Regions from separate parts of the Homo sapiens genome. Here regions 1 and 3 are each linked to region 2. The links are contacts of gene promoters, found by promoter capture Hi-C in blood cells and fetal thymus (Javierre and others, 2016). All regions are on one chromosome and are shown on one strand. The core of a region is centred on a gene start or on the middle of the fragment in contact, and the rest is flanking DNA. Distances in the headings are between cores, read along the strand shown.

Region 1 (3,994 bases), core at 772-3,271, 270 kb before region 2:
GCCTGGGCAACAAGAGCAAGACTCCATTTCAAAAAAAAAAAAAAAAAAAAAAAAAGGCAAGAGGACTGGGAAAGGTAATTTCCTGACCGTGCAGAGGCAGGAGGTAGGAGGGCTGCATCAGAAGCGTGTCTGGCACAGGTGTCAGCTGCCACTGACAAAACCTGCAGAACAGATGATTCAACAAAGCACACGCCAAATTTTGAAGCTGAAACACCAGCAAAAAATTCACTCTTTTCACAAGCAGGTATGGAAAGCCCTTATTTATGCTCTGGAAATTCTGCCATCTTAACTAGGGCAAGACGAGGGGGCCTCTGGGCAAAGCTGCACCTGTTTCGTTGCTAGCTTTGTGATCTGCTCTCCAAAGGACTCGAAAAGGAGCCTTTGCTTGCAATACAAAGTGGGGACCCGGGTGCACTCTACCTCTCCTCCACCTTCCCGGGAGTCAGCACCACATCATGTCTCTCCTAACAACACAGGCTTCCCACACATTGTAGTTTGTGAAGTGTGGTTTCTACCTCATGGCCTGCTGTTTTGGCAAAGCTTTCATTTTATTGGAATTTATGATTAAATTTAATTTAGCTGCAAAGACTTTCTTTAAAAAGGTTTTGGTTGGCCGGGCATGCTGGCTCACACCTGTAATCCCAGCACTTTGGGAGGCCAAGGCAGGCGGATCACCTAAGGTCAGGAGTTTGGGACTACCCTGGCCAATGTGGCGAAACCTAGTCTCTACTAAAAATACAAAAGTTAGCCGGATATGGTAGCAAGCACCTGTAATCCCAGCCACTCGGGAGGTTGAGGCCGGAGAATCACGTGAACCTGGGAGGTGGAGGTTGCAGTGAGCCAAGATCGCGCCACTGCACTCCAGCCTGCACTCTAGAAAGAGCGAGACTCCGTCTCAAAAAAAAAAAATTAAAAAAAAAAAAATCACAAAATCAGCTGGGCATGGTGGCACACACCTATAGTCCCAACTACTCAGGAGGCCGAGACAGGAGACCAAGGCTGAGCCCTGGACACTGAGGCTGAGCCCAGGAGATCGAGGTTGCAGTGAGCTATGATGGCACCACTGCACTCCAGCCTGCATGAAAGAGCAAGACCCTATCTCAAAAAACAAAATAAACATGCAACTTTGGTCGTGCTGACTATGCAGCCAGACAGAAACCAAAGGCTCGTACCTCTTCTAAGGGATACTTCCACTCAACAAGGACTCTTCTGCATTACCTTTAATTGATGCAAATAAAACAAAGGCTATAAAATAATAGACAAATTTTAGGAAGGTTTTCTGCTGTCTTTACAATTGTATGCTACAGCTACTTAAATACATTTTTTTTTAAAAATCACTCACAGGTGTGGTGGCTCATGCCTGTGAGCACTTTGGGAGGCCGAGGTGGGTGAATCACCTGATATCACGAGTTCGAGACTAGCCTGGCCAACATGGTAAAACCCCCGCTCTACTAAAAATACAAAAATTAGCCAGGCGTGGTGGTGCACACCTGTAGTCCCAGCTACTCAGGAGAATCACTTGAACCTGAAAGGCAGAGGCTGCAGTGAGCAGAAATCGCACCACTGCATTCCAGCCTGGTCGACAGAGCACAACTCTGTCTCAAAAAAAAAAAAAAAAATCACTTTGTAAATATTATTACTTATCCCAAATGAAGCAGTACATGCACAATTTCAAAAACAGCCCTAAGAGTACAGAACATCACAACTAAGTTTTAATCATGTGCAGAGAAGGCCGTGGACCATGGGGAGAGGCCCGGGCGCATCTCAGCTCACACTCCGGGGTAGGTGATTAGTGCAAGGGCTAAGGGAGCAGCCAGTTTGGCTCTGGGTTCATTTACATGCGGAGGTTGGAGTAGCAGCTGCTGACACTGACACCTGGTGCTGTGCGAAGCTGGGGGACAGAAATATTGAGTCATCTGGCCAAAACAAAGGACAAACTAGCACAAGAGACTGCAGCCAATCCAGGCTCATGCTGCACCTTTGCCCAGGCTCTGTCCTGGGCATGTGAAAGAGCCCTGCTTTGGTCCTGATGGAGCACAGCCTTCTGGCCAGGAGACACGCCCCCGCCGTGTGGGTGCAGGCCTCTCACCGTCGCAGGCAGTCCGTGAGCGTGGTGGTTCCCGACACGTGGCTTTCCCCGTTTACCACGTTGCCCTCGCTCCCTGGGCTCAGGGGCCAGAATGGGGTGGAAGAGCCGGGGAGATCCAAGCTGATGTCCCAGAAGGGGTCGATGGTGGTGGAGACTCCACTGGAAGCAGAGGGAAAACAATGGCTGTGAGGACTGACACCCACCCAGCTCCAGAGGCAACCCGGGGTGGAAGCCGTTCCCACATCCCTTCCCCGCTGTGCCCTTTGTCACAGTGACACTCAGGTGGGATGGGGCAGGAGCAAGAGCAGCAGTGCTCACACCCAACGTGTCCTGGCTCCCAAGGTGGCCCTGGGGAGGGGTGTGTGTGAACTCGGAAGGCGAGGGGCGCTCCTCAAGCAAGGACTTCCCAGTCTGGAGACCATCACAGTCACTGAGGGACTTGGGAGGAGGATAAACTCATGGGCCCTGTCAGAGGCTCTGAATCCACAGGTCTATCTCAGCTGCATCTAGAACTTGGGGCCTGTGACCCTAGGCAACACTGGAGACCCCTGCACATTTCACAGAGCGTGCCCAGGCCAGGCCCGGTGGCCTGCACTGGACAGTCAATGCTGCATTTCACAAGGCCAGTTCCTTGCTAGAAATTTATTTAACAATATAAAAAATGAAAACTTGCAGACTGGGAAATTTACTCTCGATATTTATACAGGATTTAAATCTTGAGACAATCTCCTACTAATGGAATTCAGTAGTTAAGGGACAGCGAGGAGGTCCAAATTGCTCAGAGCAAACTCGGTTTCTAATACTCAGAGACAAGGCCCCAAACGGTCTATGCTCCTTATAGAAAATGGCCCCCGTGACACAGGCAGCACTGGCCTTTCCCGATATTTGCTCGTCTTATGCAGTTTAGAAGTGACAGTCCATTTCGGGTTCTGAAATAATTTCGGTGGATCATGTCCAGGGTTTTTAAACTTCAACTGAAGTAAAGAACAGAGCCAGGCACGGTGGCCCATGCCTGTAGTCCCAGCTACTTGGGAGGCTAAGGAGGGAGGATCGCTTGAGCCCATGGGTTCAAGGCCAGCCTGGGCAACATACACAAGACCCCATGCCTGAAAAAAACAAAAACAAAAACAAAAAACCTGTAGCATGCACTGAGGTTGGGTGAGAGGGTCCCCTGACCTAACAAAGCAATGGATTCTCCCTGCACTCAACACTTGAGGCTCTAAGCAGAGACCACATCTGAGAAGAATTAGGGCCACTACATCAGAAAATGGAACCAGAAACCATAAAATAATGAAAACTAACACACTTCGAAGCACGTAGAAAAACAATCCACCATGCATGATCCACGCCTTCTTGAAGAGGGCTCTTTCACTTGGTCCCTGGTCAAGGACTGTAAGATGCAAAATGGTAGGGGAAGCTTCCAAGAACACACTGCTGGCTGTAGACAACAGCCAAGACCTCAACACGAAGGGCTCGCATCCCGAGGGGACACCTGCCCTACGACCTCCCCAAGAGGAAGCACCCCCACCCCACAACCTTCGCTCTCATGGCGTCTATTAATCATTTATCTCATAGCCTCCTTAAAGACCTCTCAGAGCACACACAGCTCTGGAGACTGGGAGGATGTCAGTACGGCCCCAGAGGGTTTGATATTGCCGAGCACGCAGCCTCTCACTTACTGGCAGACTTGGCAGGTGACGTCTGACTGCAACCCGCCTGTGAAGATCTGGTCTATGATGCAGTTGCAGTGGTTGGGGTTGTTGGCCTTCTTCCCATTGTCATCACCTGGAGACAGACCACGGCTCTGGGATTAGTGTCTCCCCAAATATGGGGAGTCTCTAAGGGAAGAGCAGTTCACCCTGCAGAAGCCTGGGGGAGCCAGGGCCAACGCTTTAAAAGGCCATG
Region 2 (3,641 bases), core at 84-2,583:
TGGCTGCAAGGCTTCCCTCTTATCTCCTGTGGCTCCCCACTCTGTGCATGGGGCCCTGCATCACCCCCACTTTACACCTGGGCAAGCAGAGGTCAGGCCCGGCCTCAAGCCTTTCTAGCAGGTGGTGGAATCTGCTTCCCTCACGTGAGGTCCCTGACAGGGTACACATGTCTGCCTGGAGGCCAGGGGCTGACCCCTTGACCTTTGCCTGGTACATTCTGCCTTCACTAGCCCTGGCTTTACATCCAGAGTCATCTGTTCCCAGCGCCAGATTGGTCAGCGGTTCCTGAAATCCCCCGAGGTTCCGTGTGGGAGCAGAGGGAGGACTGGCCCATCCAGCCATTATGCAGATGGGCAGACTGAGATCCTAGGAGGAGAGGAGAGAACGAAGGTCCAGGAGAGAGCCAGGATGGGGCCTCGGGGCTCGCGGGATAAAATGCACCGCATGCCGCCTCACTCCCTCTGAGACACGGTTTCCCCCTGTGTAGAACAGGGGCAGCAGTAACCAGCCACGAAAACTCCTCGTGCTGCCTCGTCACCGGGCATCGCTGAGCTCACCACCGACCCCGCGCCCTGGCCGGGCGCCTGGAGCGCGGGCGCGGGCGACGTTTGCTGGCGCCAGGCCCTCAGTGCGTGTTAGCGAGCAGCGCCGGGAGATAGCTGTCACCGCCGCCCGCTCACAGATGCGTAGACTGAGGCTCAGGTGTCACCACCTGACCAAGGCTAGTTCCGCTACAAAGCTGCCGACTCGGATCCGAACCCGGGTCCAATTTACAGAAAAGGAAACTGAGGCCCAGAGACACTAGGGAGCTTGCTAGGGTGAGGCAGCTGCAGGTTCAGAGAGCCAGGAGGCAGCCCAGCAGCGCACTTTTAACCCCCGCCCACTTCGGCAGGCCCAGCCGTGCCACCTTTAGGGATCTCGGGTTTTTTCCAGACGACGCACCCAGGAGAACGCGCCCGCGCATCGCACCCGCCGGGGCTGCGGGTCTGGGGGTGCCGGGCTGGGCCTGGGCGCCTGCAGGGAGCAGCGGGCTCAGTGGGTCCCGGGAGTGGGTGGGGCTTGCATGTTGACGGGCAGCGCGAGGGGCGCGGCTTTAGTCCAGGGGGCGGAGCCTGACCGGACCTGGGTTTTTCGGGCGGCTGGCGGACTTGACAGAGAGCGGGAGGGGCCCGGATCCTGGGCCTAAGGAGGGTGGGGCGTGTGCTTGACAGGCAGGGACAGGCCGGCGTCTGATAGGCAGAGGACGGGCCTTGGAAACGAAAGGACCAATCGGGCACGCAGGGGCGGGGCCTGAGTCAGCGCAGTTCGGCCGGGGTCTCCCCGGCGCTGCCCAGTCTGTCTCCGGCGCCGCCCGTCGCGGACTCGTCCTTGCTGCAGTCGCCGCCGCAGTCCTCGCCGCAGTCGCCGCCGCCGCCGCCGCCGCCGCCGCTGCTCCTCCGCCTGGCCTGGGCCGTCTGCCCGCAGCCATGAGCGTGCTCGGCCCCGGTGGAGCCCGCAGTCCTCTAGATTAGTCTCCACCGCCGTCCAGGACCCACTTGCAGCATGGAGTCGCCCGCCTCGAGCCAGCCCGCCAGCATGCCCCAGTCCAAAGGTAGGCGCTCCCGGCCGGGACCTCGGCCTGACCCCGCGCCTAATCTGGGGCCGGGCTGCAAACCCCGACCTTTCTTTGGTCCCACCCCATCCTGTTCTCGACCTGGCAGCGGCGTCCGGTCCCGGAACCCCTTCCTGTTCGGGGTCCCGGGACCAGCCCCCGCCTGGGCCCTCACCTGGACCCCCACGTTAGGCCTTGGGACTGCACTCAGGCCCGAGATCACCCAGGCTGGACCCAGACTAGGACTTTGTTCTGCTCACCCCATCCAAGTCAGGAGCCTCATTCTGACCTCATTTGGGCCTTATGGCTGCAGCCTGGACATGAACTCTCCCAGTCTTCTCCCTCAGCGGGACCCAGGTGAGATTCACACTGGCCTTCACCTGGGTCCTTGGGCAGCACCCAGTCCCATTTCTAGCTTCGGGTCCCAGGGCTGTATCCAGGTTGGGATTTAACTTGAGTCTCCATCTGGGCCCCAGAGTGCTCCTGTTGTTGCGGACCTCACTGTACCCCCTATGCGGGTGCTCTGGCTACACCCCAGCTCGGAACTCCCCGTCCTTCTCTCCCCCAGCTCTTCTTATCCTTATAGGCCCTATGTTGCCCCTTCCCTGGCTGGCCTGCACCCTGTCCTGCAGCCCTGGGCTCCCAGGAACCTTCCTTGTCCTCCCACCCCTCCCTAAGGTACAGCCCCCTCTCTACCGGCCTCTCTCTGTCTTGAGTTGCAAGCTTCTCCCTGCACTGGGGGTTCTCACCCCATCTTATTCTTGTCCTGGCTGCCTGGGATCTGGGCCAGCCGCCAGGCCAGGGTGCTGGCTGTGCAAGGGATTTGCTCTTCTCCAAGTAGCTGGCCTTCCTGGAAATTTTTGTGAGGTGGCAGCAGCAGGATTTGTCATGCGGAGGGGGAAGGATGAAACTCGGAGGGCAAAAGGGGAATTTTTTTTTTTTCAGGAAGAGGAAAGGATGTTTTTGGTGCGTCGGAGTTTCAGTAGGCTGGGTTGTGCGAGAGATTTCCAAACCGGACATAGCCGTAATGAATGGGCTGCCTCCTGGCTTTCTGAACCTGCAGCTGCTTCACCCCAGCAAGCTCCCTGGTGTCTCTGGGCCTCAGTTTCCTTTTCTGTAAATTGGAAGTAATCGCACCTGCTTCTGTGGACGTGGGAGTGTGGTGTGGGGTGGTGAATAGTAAAGAGCTCTGAGGCGTTCTCTCAGCGTAGCACCTGGCGCAGAGCCGGTGCTCACCAGGGTACACTGGCTGCACACATCTCGCTATTGTTTCCATTCTTCTTGCTGGAAAGGCCTCCACTGCTGGAAGTGCAGCCTCAGAGTGAGCAGGAGGAAGCACCTAGCAGCGGGCACCTAGTGGGCACTTCATCAGGGGTCAGCCGCTCTTCTGTTCTGGAGGGTGCAGGCCAATGGGAGCCCTATGTGGGCCTGGGGAGGGCATGGGCTCTTCCTGGCCCCTGCTGCTGGCTGCTATGGTGGCTGGAGCCGGGTGGGCTGGATAATTATGCCTTACATAAGTGGGAGGCCGGATCCCTGACCATTGCCCAACCACTGTGAGTAACTCGGGAGGCACTCGACGGGGGAGGTGTCTGGGGAGGGACTTGCACTGCACAGACCTCGTGGAGCTTGGGAACCAGGAAATCAGACACTTCTCCACTCTGGAGAGCTCGGGGAAGGGTAGGAAGCACTGTTTGTTTTGGAGGCTTTTTAGCTCTCCAGGCAGAGAATGCCTCATCAAAATAAAAGTTCCAGTTGCAGAGTTGTGAAAGGAGAGGGGTCATAGATGCAGTGAGAATGCTGTGAGAGGGCCAAAATGAACTTCTAGATGTGGACCCAGGTCCTAGATGAGGTTGAGGGGGCTGGATGGAGGGTCAGGGACCTCCCTCAGGCCCAGGGACTCTGTAGTCTCTTTGGGGTCTGGGGAAGGATGTGGTGGCAGAGCCACAATGCCCTTCACCAAAAACCCTATGAGCTCCTTCTTTTTTTCCATGTGCCATGCATTTTCTCATTTATTCCTCATAGCCCCATTTACTGATAAGGAAACTGAGG
Region 3 (3,746 bases), core at 136-2,635, 260 kb after region 2:
CTGACTTTCATTATACTTTTATTACATAATAATATCTCTAAATAATATATTGTTTCTCTAAATAATATACTGTTTAACTTTGTAAGTTTTTACACTTTCTATAAATGTGCTGTGTATCTCTGTAACTTGCATTACTCATTCCACATTGTATTTTCGAGAGCCTTCTATGTTTTAAGTAGTTTCTCATTCAATTCTATATATTGCTTACTAATTAGCCTTTAAATTGAATATACTAAGACCTGCTGGAGAGAGAATTCTTGTGGGATAATGAGTATAAAGTGCTTAAAGCAGTGCCCCATTCATTATAGGTATTCAATATATGTAATACTATACACAATATTTTAATACTGAGTAATTATATACATATTATGATTGCTTGTTTCTTTGTGGATGTACATTATTTCATCAACTGCACTATGAACTAATAGTTTTCTTTCTTCTAGGGGAGGGGGCGGGGTCTGGCACTGTTGCCCAGGCTGAAGTACACTGGTGCGATCACGGCTCACTGCAGCCTAGACCTCCCGGGCTCAAGGATCCTCCCACCTCAGCCTCCTGAGTAGCTGTGTCTATCAGCAGTGCCACCACTCCCAGCTAATTTTTAAATTTTTTGTAGAGATGGGGTTTCACCATGTTGCCCAGGCTGGTCTCTAACTCCTAGCTCAAGTGATCTGCCCACCTTAACCTCCCAAAGTGCTGGGATTACCGCTGTAAGCCATTATGCTGGGCAAGAGTTTTCAAACTACGGTAAAATTCAAGTTACAGATACCTTTGGGAAATGCCTCATTCTAAGTATTTGAAGCTTCCAGATAGCTAAGATTAAAAATTTTTACATACTAACTTGTTTCTAAGTGTATGCTTTTACATTTAAACAAACTAAAAACATAAGCTTTATAAAAAAATTTCAGCCATTTCCAAATTCTCTTCCAAACTTGTTTAGAAACATACATGACAGAGCTTTGGTCGGATTGTGCAAACTGTTGTGTGTTCTGTTTTTAAAATATTACTTAACTTGTACACTTCCACACATTGGCATGGCACATCATTGCCATTTCCAATACGTTCCTGTGCTTCACCAATTTCCATAGCTGTCAGAGGGAGAGCAGCCCAGGTGACAGGAAATGAAGTTGTCTGGCTCCGAGTCCTTACTAGGAGGACTTCTGGGATCCAGAATCTTTGCATGGGGCAGATGACATATTCTTAGAGGCCATTCATTTTTTCCACTGTAGCTGCTAGTGCCAGTTTCCACTCCACTGCCTGAGGGCAGGTTGATCTTGTAAGCCATCACCGATGGATTTGTGGTCACTGCCTGGAACCCTGTGCCAAAGAGGACTGGGAGGTCCCATTCAGGAGGGAATCCTCTGACTTATTACTGGCATCTGAGCATCTCCCAGCATGGCTGTTCCTACTTGTAATAAGGTGATGTCAAATGACTCCAGGGCAGTGCTCCGGTTCCCATGAACACATCTGGTCACTCTGGGAGCTTTTGAGTCAGTGAGCTCTCTCCTCACATCCCGATACACTGTTGTTTGCAAAAATATATTTTTATAGGCAAGGTATTTGTGTTTTGGATTTGCACCCTGATGCAGGCATTAATTTGTTTAAAAGGATAATTTAACATTTTCAGGAAGCTGAACATCTTTAAATTCTCTTTTGATTATTTCTAGTTTTATTGCATTATGACCCAGAAATGTGTACAATTTTTGTTCTTGTATACTCACTAAGGATTCTTCTTGTTTTCAGAGTAGGACCAAAGGTATTTCTATTTGTTTGCAAGTCTGTTGGCTCAGTTTCTAAAGAGTTCATTTTGTTACCATGTTCTTTTAAGTATATACATACAGGTTAGTTACGTTTCCAGTTTCCTGTGCTTTTTATTTTTTTTTTAAACAAGCTTTTCTGGCCCTTCATTCTCTCAGACTTTTCCTTCCATGCCTTATGCTGTAGATAAAGTCTATGATCTAACGTCTGTCAGTTAAGATTGTTTTCAGCTCTGGAGACCAGAAAATCTGACCCACATAGCAAGAACAAGCAAGGGCAGGAGATGAGGCTGAAGAGGCAGGCACCAGGTTGTCTGAGCTTTTATTCTACTGCAATGAGTAGATAGTGGCAGGGTTTACACAGGGGTGGGGGTATGCCTATATCATGTTTTAACATTTTCAAGAGATCACTCTGGATGCTTGAGTGGAGGCTGGACTGTAGCAGGGCAAGACAAGATGCAGGGAGGTTGGAGGATTCTTGGCAGTAGCCCAGTAGGAGAGGAAGGTGACTGAAACTGGTTGTGGAAATGGAGATGGTGAATCAGGATGCTGGTTGCACTCAAGAGCCACAGGACTTGCTGTGTGGTTGCATGGGGGTTGGGGGAGAAGGGAAAAGAGTCAGGGATGACTCTTGGTGCTCCCCTCAGGGAAGAGGCCCCAAGCCTAGTGGTTATCAACAGATGGATGGTATTTAAAGCTATGAGACTGTGTGGGATCATTCTGAGAGGATCACTAGAGATCTGGTGGAGGAGGAGCAGGAGGATGAGGATAAAGGTGAGAGGGAATCCAGGAGGGAAGGTCCCTAAAATCCAGAAGAAAGGGTGGAACTCCTCAATTGTATCGTCTGTGTCAAATGCAGCTAAATGACTGAGATAAAAGTCGTTTCAGCAAAGTACCTTGGAGGAAAGCTGGAAAGGAGTGGGTGCAAGAGAGGACATGAGGTGAGGAAGTTGCATGGAGCAGAGAAACAGAATGGTAAATGGAGAGAAACCTGGGGTTAAAAAAGGTCTATTTGTTTAATGCACAGCATTAAGGAATGCTTGTGTGTGGACACTAGCAAAAAATCAGTACAGAGAACCCCAGAATTCTGGGGTCATAGCCCGAAAGGACTCCTCAGCTCCAAATTTACTTGAAGTTACAGCTTCCATCTTTAAATTAAATGGGATTTTTTTTTTTTTTGCCATCTATTTCATCATACAGGATGTGACACAGAATATATCTGAAAGTATAACTTTCCTGGAAGAACACATCTTAGTTTTTAATATCTAAACTGTATAGCAGCTATTTATCTCACAAAACATTTTTCAGGCTGAGTGCGGTTGGTGACTCACGCCTGTGATTCCAGCACTTTGGGAGGCCAAGGCAGGAAAATTGCTTGAGTCTAGAAGTTCGAGGCCAGCCTGGGCAATGTGGGGAGATGTAGTTTCTACAAAAAATTTAGAAATTAACAGGCATGGTGGCACAAACCTGTGGTCTCAGCTACTGGGGAGGCTGAAGCAGGTGGATCGCTGGAACCCCTTTCGTGGTGCAGTTTGGGCAAAAGAGCAAGAACCTGTCTCAAATTTTTTGGCTGATGGTTGTAGACATAATGTTTGAGCTTTCAAAAATTACAACATTTTAAACTAAATAGTTTGCTGGAAAAAACCACATGTTCCTTCCAGAAACAACTGGTAGACCATCAGGATCATGACAGTCACTTCAAAAAGCTTTGGTGTGTTGACAAAGGGGAGGTTCACGTGTGATGTTGCTGGTCGCACAGCTACTGCATCCAAGGCAAATGCATGTTAACAACCATATCAAATGTGGGTGACCAAGTGGCAACATTTAAGCATTTTACATCCTAACTTATGTGCAACTTAAACCTACTGCCACACTGTGAGTTAGGAAATTGGTAGGTTTTTTTCTATTGACTTGTTGTGCCCTATAATTTTTCCTATTTAAAATAATGGGAAACAAGTTTTCAGTTTTTTTCTCAGAAAAAGTCTGACATTT

Evidence for each region. The method cuts DNA at HindIII sites, captures the fragments that hold promoters and counts their contacts. A CHiCAGO score of 5 or more calls a contact.
Region 1: a fragment that was not itself captured here is called in contact with the fragment with the promoter of MAP2K3 in region 2 in 1 of 17 cell types (neutrophils); the score reaches 5.4 in neutrophils.
Region 3: a fragment that was not itself captured here is called in contact with the fragment with the promoter of MAP2K3 in region 2 in 2 of 17 cell types (total CD8 T cells and naive CD4 T cells); the score reaches 5.7 in total CD8 T cells.

The regions. Positions count from the first base shown.
Region 1 is chr17:21,009,062-21,013,055 of GRCh38, forward strand. It overlaps USP22 (ubiquitin specific peptidase 22), which reads right to left. Exons shown (of 13, transcript NM_015276.2): 7 at 3,769-3,874; 8 at 2,090-2,248. Among named protein-coding and RNA genes, the nearest start is that of USP22, 32 kb to the right of the region's middle. The HindIII fragment of the contact is 2,966 bases long and covers 539-3,504 here.
Region 2 is chr17:21,283,378-21,287,018 of GRCh38, forward strand. MAP2K3 (mitogen-activated protein kinase kinase 3) reads left to right here and starts at 1,334. Exons shown (of 12, transcript NM_145109.3): 1 at 1,334-1,592. The coding sequence starts at 1,544. RefSeq lists enhancers at 406-906, 2,983-3,042 and a silencer at 793-1,322. The HindIII fragment of the contact is 5,771 bases long and covers 1-2,313 here.
Region 3 is chr17:21,547,173-21,550,918 of GRCh38, forward strand. All of the region lies in intron 1 of LINC02693 (long intergenic non-protein coding RNA 2693), which reads right to left. Among named protein-coding and RNA genes, the nearest start is that of LINC02693, 2.6 kb to the right of the region's middle. The HindIII fragment of the contact is 1,002 bases long and covers 885-1,886 here.